2 separate regions of the Homo sapiens genome follow, and region 2 is linked to region 1. The links are contacts of gene promoters, found by promoter capture Hi-C in blood cells and fetal thymus (Javierre and others, 2016). All regions are on one chromosome and are shown on one strand. Each heading gives the region's core, a stretch centred on a gene start or on the middle of the fragment in contact. The rest is flanking DNA. Distances are from core to core; before and after follow the strand shown. Region 1 holds the start of HMMR-AS1 (HMMR antisense RNA 1). Region 2 has its middle 14 kb from the start of PANK3.

Region 1 (4,251 bases), core at 1,268-3,767:
AAAAGAATATTTTGAAAGTTAAGTGCACAATAGATAGTACATCCTTAGAGAGAGGATTCAGTACAGGCTGCTGGTAAGGATGAGATCATAAAGACTGGCACTAGGGAGACTCCCTTTCTGGGAGTCTTACATGATTAATCATAAGGGGGTGGGAAGAGGTGTTACTAGTAAGCATGTTCTGGGTGGTCCTCTGGGTGCACAAGAGCAGTAGCTGTACATGCTTGTTCATATATCGCATGTCTCATTAGCATCTTAAATCTCCACCCAGCAGTGGGTTTTTTACTATTATAATGAACAAAGGGTCAGGCTGAGGATAGGTAAAATCAAAATGTATATGCTATATACAGGGAAATTTCCTACTGAAGATAGCTTTGCTTGAATTAGCTTGACTACAATGTGAATGCTGGGGCTTATTTTGTTAAAGTATGTGGTGCAGTAAGCCACAGTTGCTGCATACCAAGGGCATGTTTACTTCCTTGACTACCTATTCTGCCTCATAATGAGTATAATGAGGACAGTTGGTTGTTTCTAATGTCACTGGATAAAGTGGTGCAAAAGTGAGTGTAGGGATTTTTATTCCCAGCTCAAGTGCTCCATAAATAATCTGAAAGCTTCTATGTGCACCCTGAAGAAAACCCTATCTCCTGTAGCCCCAGAGCTGAGACTGTTGAAAATCAAACACAGCATCTCATCCTGTGACTGGCTGAATTACAACACAAATTAGAATTCCAGCCTTGCAGAGTGACTATTGTCAAAAGGAGGGCACTTACTGAAAAAAAAATGGGATTCTGTAAATTAGGATTGGGACATATGGGAAGACCTTGATGAAGCTGGGGACATTAAGCCCCTAAATTCTGATGAGTCTTCTTTGCTAGTGGAGAGGCTTCTCAACCCCATTGGAAGCAGCTTCTCCATTTCCAGTGATAGTACCCTCCAACCTGTCTGTGATGATTAACACTGCATTGCCTGAGGAAATTGTAATGGCCTCCTTTGAGGCAGTTGATATGCAAGACAATGTTGGTTCTCCTCCAGACCCAACTCCACCACCCTTCTTTGCTTCTAGACCTGAAACTAGACAGGAACAAAGTGTTACCTATGAAGAGATGTGCTATACTCCAAAGAGTTACTCAAAGTCTCTAATTTATACAGACAAAAATCTGGGAACATATGTCGGAATGGATAATAAAGGTGTTGGAAAATGATGGAAGGAACATAAAGTTGGATCAGGTCAAATTTATTGACATGGGCTCACTAAGCCAAGATTCTGCATTTAACATTGCAGCTTGGGGAGTTAGAAAGGGTGCTCACAGTTTGATTGGCTTACTAAAACATGGAAAAGATGAATTGGAAGTGCTGGACATGCCTTGGTTTAATCTAGAGGATGGGATTAAAAGGTTTAGGAATATTGGGAAATTAGATTTTTCACTTAAGAACTACTCATCTCGGGTGGATCATGAGGTCAGGAGATCGAGACCATCCTGGCTAACAAGGTGAAACCCCGTCTCTACTAAAAATACAAAAAATTAGCCGGGCGCGGTGGCGGGCGCCTGTAGTCCCAGCTACTCGGGAGGCTGAGGCAGGAGAATGGCGTGAACCCGGGAAGCGGAGCTTGCAGTGAGCAGAGATTGCGCCACTGCAGTCCGCAGTCCGGCCTGGGCGACAGAGCGAGACTCCGTCTCAAAAAAAAAAAAAAAAAAAGAACTACTCATCCACACTGGGAAGGTCAAGAAAGCATACCTTTCACCAATACTATGAGAAAGAAATTTGCGAGGAGAGCTCCAGCATCTTTTTCAGAACTCTGTGATGGCTCTTCTCTGTAGGCCAGAGCTCACTGCAGTCACTGAACTGGAAAACCTAAATATAATGGAAGTAAAGGATCCCAGGGTGGCAAGGGTCAAGTAATGGGACTCAACCACCAAAGGCAAGGTGAAGTGGTTATCATAATGACAGAGCCAAAGGAACAATTAGAATAATCTCACTTGTAGACCTATGCTTTGGCTAGTTGATCATGGTTTTCCTAGACGTGAAATAGATAGGAAGCCTACTGAAGTCTTAACTTGATCTGTATAAGCAGAAAACTTCTAAGTCAAGTGACGAAAGTTGAACTCGAATCATAAAAACAGAATCGTGGTCCCTTAATTCCCAAACTTGAGCCACTTTATAGAGCCCAAAACCCTTTGATTGAAGGGGAGGACCTCAAAGGGACCCTGGTCCATAACCAAATGTTTATACTGTTAGTCTTTCTCCTAGTCCTCCGCAAAGGGATGTACAACCTTTACCAACGTAACTGTGCATTAGAAAAAGGGAATAATCAGATCTTTTGTGAACTAGTGGACACTGGCTCTCTGAAGTGACACTAATTTCAGGAGATCCAAAGTGCTACTGTCAGGGTAGCAGCTTATGGAGGTCAGGTGATCAGCAGAGTTTTAGCTTAGTTCCATCTCACAATGGGCCCAGTGAATTCCTGAACCTATCCTGTGGTTATCCCCTAGTTCTAGAATGTATAATTAGAATACAGTCAGCAGCTGACAGAATAATCCACACATTGGTTTCCTTACCTATGGAGTGAGGGCTATTATGGTGGAAAAGGCCAAGTAGAAGCCACTAGAACTATCTGTACTTAGGAAAATAGTAAACCAAAAGCAATGCTCAATTCCTATAGGGACTGAAGAGATTAGTGCCACCATAAGTACTTGAAGGAAGGCGGGGTGGTGATTCCTACCATATGTCCATTCAACTCGCCTATTTAGCCTGGGCAGAAGACAGATGGATTATCACAAACTTAACTAGGTGGTGACTCCAATTGCAGCTACAGTACCAGATGTATTGCTTGAGCAAATTAACACAACTCCTGGTTCCTGGTATGCAGCTACCTGGTATGATCTGGCAAATGCCTTTCTCTCCATCCCTGTCTATAAGGCCGACCAGAAGCAGTTTGCTTTTAGCTAGCAAGGCTAGAAATGCACCTTCATGTCCTACCTCAGGGCATATCAACTCACCAGCCCTGTCCTAATTTTGTTCACAGGAATCTTGATTGCCTTTTCTTTCCACATCACATTGGTCCATTACATTGACGACATTATGCTCACTGGACCTAATGAGTGAGACATAGCAACTACTCCAGACCTATTGGTAAGACATTTGCATGTCAGAAGTGGGAAGTAAATCCAACAAAAATTCAAAGGCTTTTTCATGTCTCAGTAAAATTTCTAGGGGTCCAGTGGTATGAGGCATGTTGAGATACCCCTTCTAAGGTAAGTTTTTGCATCTGCCCCCTCCTACAACCAGAAGAGGCATGACATGCGGCAGGCCTCTTTGGATTTTGAAGACGTTTCCTCATTTGAGTTTGTTACTCTGGCCCATTTACTGAGTGACTTGAAAAGCTGCTAGTTTGGAGTAGGACTCAGAATAGGAAAGGTTCTGCAATAGGTCCAGGCTATTGTGTAAGCGGCTTTGTTGCTTGGGACATATGAACTTGCAGATCCAGTGGTATTTGAAGTGTCAGTGGCAGATAGAGATGCTGTTGGAACCTTTGGCAGGCCCACATAGATGAATCTCAGTGCAGACCCTTAGTATTTTGAAGAAAGACCTGTTATCCTATGCAGATAACTACTCTTTTGAGAAACAGCTCTGGGCCTACTGCTGGGCTTCAGTAGGGACTGAATGCTTACCGTGGTCAATTAAGTTACCATGCGACCTGAGCTGCCCATCATGAGCTGGGTGTTATCTGACCCACAAGCCATAATGCTGGGTGTGGACAGCAGGAGTACATCATCAAAGAACGTGTTATGTATGTGACTGGGCCCAGGCAGGACCTGAAGGCAAAAGCAAGTTACATGAAGAAGTGACCCAAATGCCCATGGTCCCTGTTCCTGCTACCTTGCCTTTTTTCTCCCAAGCTCATGGAGAGTTCCCTATGATGAGTTGACAGGAAGAAACAACATGGGCCTAGTTTATAGATGGTTCTGTGTGATATGTAGGCATCACCTGAAAGTGGATAGCCATAGTACACCAGCCCTTCTCTGGGACATCCCTGAAGGATAGTGGTAAAGAGAAATCCTCCCAGTGGGCAGAACTTTGGGCAGTGCACCTGGTTGTTCATCTTGTTACCCCATGTTGGCTAAAAGTAGAGGTCCTGAAGCATTTTATTATTTATTTATATATTTTTTAGAGATGAGGTATCACTATGTTGCTCAGGCTGGTCTTGAATTCCACCTGCCTCAGCCTCCCAAAGTGTTGGGATTATAGGCG
Region 2 (4,251 bases), core at 928-3,427, 5.1 Mb before region 1:
ATAGCTAAGATTAGAGCAGAACTGAAGGAGACAGAGACACAAAAAACCCTTCAAAAAATCAATGAATCCAGGAGCTGGTTTTTTTAAAAAGATCAACAAAATTGATAGACCACTAGCAAGACCAATAAAGAAGAAAAGAGAGAAGAATCAAATAGATGCAATAAAAAATGATAAAGGGGATATCACTACTGATCCCACAGAAATACAAACTACCATCAGAGAATACTATAAACACCTTTACACAAATAAACTAGAAAATCTAGAAGAAATGGATAAATTCCTGGACATATACACCCTCCCAAGACTAAACCAGGAAGAAGTTGAATCTCTGAATAGACCAATAACAGGCTCTGAAATTGAGGCAATAATTAATAGCGTACCAACCAAAAAAAGTCCAGGACCAGACGGATTCACAGCCAAATTCTACCAGAGGTACAAAGAAGAGCTGGTACCATTCCTTCTGAAACTCTTCCAATCAATAGAAAAAGAGGGAATCCTCCCTAACTCATTTTATGAGGCCAGCATCATCCTGATACCAAAGCCTGGCAGAGACAAAACAACAACAAAAAAAAGAATTTTACGCCAATATCCCTGATGAACATCGATGCGAAAATCCTCAATAAAATACTGACAAACCGAATCCAGCAGTGCATCAGAAAGCTTATCCATCACGATCAAGTCAGCTTCATCCCTGGGATGCAAGGCTGGTTCAACACACACAAATCAATAAACATAATCAATCACATAAACAGAACCAAAGTCAAAAACCGCATGATTATCTCAATAGATGCAGAAAAGGCCTTCAACAAAATTCAACAGCCTTTCATGCTAAAAACTTTCAATAAACTAGGTATTCATGGAATGTATCTCAAAATAATAAGAGCTATTTATGACAAACCCACAGCCAATATCATAATGAATGGGCAAAAACTGGAAGCATTCCCTTTGAAAATTGGCACAAGACAGGGATGCCCCCTTTACCACTCCTATTCAACATAATGTTGGAAGTTCTGGCCAGGGCAATCAGGCAAGAGAAAGAAATAAAGGGCATTCAATTAGGAAAAGAGGAAGTCAAATTGTTCCTGTTTGCGGATAACATGATTGTGTATTTAGAAAACCCCATCGTCTCAGCCCAAAATCTCCTTAAGCTGATAAGCAACATCAGCAAAGTCTCAGGATACAAAATCAATGTGCAAAAATCACAAGCATTCCTATACACCAATAACAGGCAACCACAGAGCCAAATCATGACTGAACTCCCATTCACAATTGCTACAAAGAGAATAAAATACCTAGGAATCCAACTTACAAGGGATGTGAAGGACCTCTTCAAGGAGAACTACAAACCACTGCTCAACGAAACAAAAGAGGACACAAACAAATGGAAGAACATTCCATGCTCATGGATAGGAAGAATCAATATCGTGAAAATAGCCATACTGCCCAAGGTAATTTATAGATCCAGTGCCATCCCCATCAAGCTACCAATGACTTTCTTCACAAAACTGGAAAAAAACTACTTTAAAGTTCACATGGAACCAAAAAAGAGCCTGCATTGCCAAGACAATCCTAAGCAAAAAGAACAAAGCTGGAGGCATCACACTACCTGACTTCAAACTATGCTACAAGGCTACAGTAACGAAAACAGCAAGGTACTGGTACCAAAACAGAGATATAGACCAATGGAACAGAACAGAGGCCTCAGAAATAACACCATACATCTACAACCATGTGATCTTTGACAAACCTAACAAAAACAAGAAATGGGGAAAGGATTCCCTATTTAATAAATGGTGCTGGGAAAACTGGCTAGCCATATGTAGAAAGCTGAAACTGGATCCCTTCCTTACACCTTATACAAAAATTAATTCAAGATGGATTAAAGACTTAAATATTAGACCTAAAACCATAAACACCCTAGAAGAAAACTAGGCAATACCATTCAGGACATAGGCATGGGCAAGGACTTCATGACTAAAATACCAAAAGCAATGGCAACAAAAGCCAGAATAGACAAATGGGTTCTAACTAAACTAAAGAGCTTCTGCACAGTAAAAGAAACTACCATCAGAGTGAACAGGCAACCTACAGAATGGGAGAAAATTTTTGCAATCTACCCCTCTGACAAAGGGCTGATATCCAGAATCTACAAAGAACTTAAACAAATTTACAAGAAAAAATCAAACAACCGCATCAAAAAGTGGGAAAAGGATATGAACAGACGCTTCTCAAAAGACATTTACGCAGCCAACAGACACATGAAAAAATGCTCATCATCACTGGCCATCAGAGAAATGCAAATCAAAACCACAATGAGATACCATCTCACACCAGTTAGAATGGCGATCACTAAAAGGTCAGGAAACAACAGGTGCTGGAGAGGATGTGGAGAAATAGGGACACTTTTATACTGTTGGTGGGACTATAAACTAGTTCAACCATTATGGAAGACAGTGTGGCGATTCCTCAAGGATCTAGAACTAGAAATACCATTTGACCCAGCCATCCCATTACTGGGTATATACCCAAAGGATTATAAGTCATGCTGCTATAAAGACACATGCACACATATGTTTACTGCAGCACTATTCACAATAGCAAAGACTTGGAACCAACCCAAATGTCCATCAATGATAGACTGGATTAAGAAAATGTGGCACATATACACCATGGAATACTATACAGCCATAAAAAATGATGAGTTCATGTCCTTTGTAGGGACATGGATGAAGCTGGAAACCATCATTCTGAGCAAACTATCACAAGGACAGAAAACCAAACACCGCATGTTCTCACTCATAGGTGGGAACTCAACAATGAGAACGCTTGGACACAGGGTGGGGAACATCACACACAGGGGCCTGTCATGGGGTAGGGGGAGGGGGGAGGGATAGCATTAGGAGATATACCTAATGTAAATGACGTGTTAATGGGTGCAGCACACCAACATGGCACACGTATACACATGTAACAAACCTGCACGTTGTGCACATGTACCCTAGAACTTAAAGTATAATAAAAATATATACATTCTAAATGTATCTCAAATCATAAAGAATCTATTAGCAGGAATAAAAACATTCTGTGTGACAAGAAAAAAAATCAGAAAATGCATGTAAATCCCTTAGCTCAGTGCCTGCTACATAGTAAGTGCTCAACAAATAGCTGTCTTCATTGTTACTTGGTCATTGATATTGGTTGAGCTGGTGTTGACTGGCATGGCCTCAAATAATGAATAGGACTTCTAGGTAAGAGTACTAAGAATTCTATTAAGCATGCTGGGCAAGTGCCAGTTTGCCTTGTGCAACAGGCTCTGTGGCTGGATAACTCTGGAAGCAGAAATTCCAAACAGAGTCTAGCTATTTGTTTGGTTCCAGATAGAAATCACTCCAGTTCAGCTGCTATTGGAAACTTACTCATCTGCTAACCTTGAGGATCAGTGGCTGTGAAGGTAAACAGGAAAAAAGTAAACAAGGTAAAAGAGACAGACTTCTGTATCATGAGCGAGATCAGCCTTGCTCACAAAGGCTCAACTTCTCTAGAATGGACAGAGAATCTAGCTTGATTTTATATTAGCTAGTCATTTTTGCCAGTTAAATGTTAATTAAAAATTGACTTGCACAAAAACTGAAAGTTTGTGCTGAAGAACATCCATAGCAAAAGGTGGTGAGGCTCCTGCCACAAGGAAGCTTGTTATCTAGTAAATGCTATGAATTCACTCATTCTTACATTTATTCTCTCATTCCACCACCAGAATGCCTTCCCTTAGCTGGTTTCTTTGCCTCCTGTCCCGCCTAAGCTGTTATCTTTACCACAGCCAGAGTAAACTTTCCAAAATACAGTTCTAATCCTGACATTCCCCTGCTTTTAAATCTTTGGTGGGTCCCTTTTCCTTGAACAAAGTCCAAACTCTAACATGGTTCACAAGAAACTTTATGATCGGGCTTGAAACCTCCCAGTGGCTTTGAATTGCTTTTGAAATAGAATCCACACTCTTCCTTGTGTCCTACTAGGGAACTCAGGCAGCTTAAGGAACTTGCTTAAGTGGTAGAGCCCACTCTGACTGATTCCAAAGCCCATGCTCCAAACCAGAGCTGCTCAAAGCAGCTTTACAGTGAACTATTTGTTAATGGTCCAAGCCTAGGGCAGTGACAGCCTGGGTCAAAATGTAAATCAATGCAATGCTACCTTCATGGAGAAAGTCTTACTGTGAAGAAAATACCAGCTGAACTACAAACAGTATGATTAGTG

What was found. The method cuts DNA at HindIII sites, captures the fragments that hold promoters and counts their contacts. A CHiCAGO score of 5 or more calls a contact.
Region 2: a contact is called between a fragment that was not itself captured here and the fragment with the promoter of HMMR-AS1 in region 1, in 1 of 17 cell types (naive CD8 T cells). The highest score is 6.4, in naive CD8 T cells.

The regions. Positions count from the first base shown.
Region 1 is chr5:163,492,324-163,496,574 of GRCh38, reverse strand. It overlaps HMMR-AS1 (HMMR antisense RNA 1), which reads left to right and starts at 2,517. Exons shown (of 4, transcript NR_109892.1): 1 at 2,517-2,876; 2 at 3,026-3,132. The HindIII fragment of the contact is 5,178 bases long and covers 614-4,251 here.
Region 2 is chr5:168,591,327-168,595,577 of GRCh38, reverse strand. No RefSeq gene overlaps it. Among named protein-coding and RNA genes, the nearest start is that of PANK3, 14 kb to the right of the region's middle. The HindIII fragment of the contact is 3,029 bases long and covers 663-3,691 here.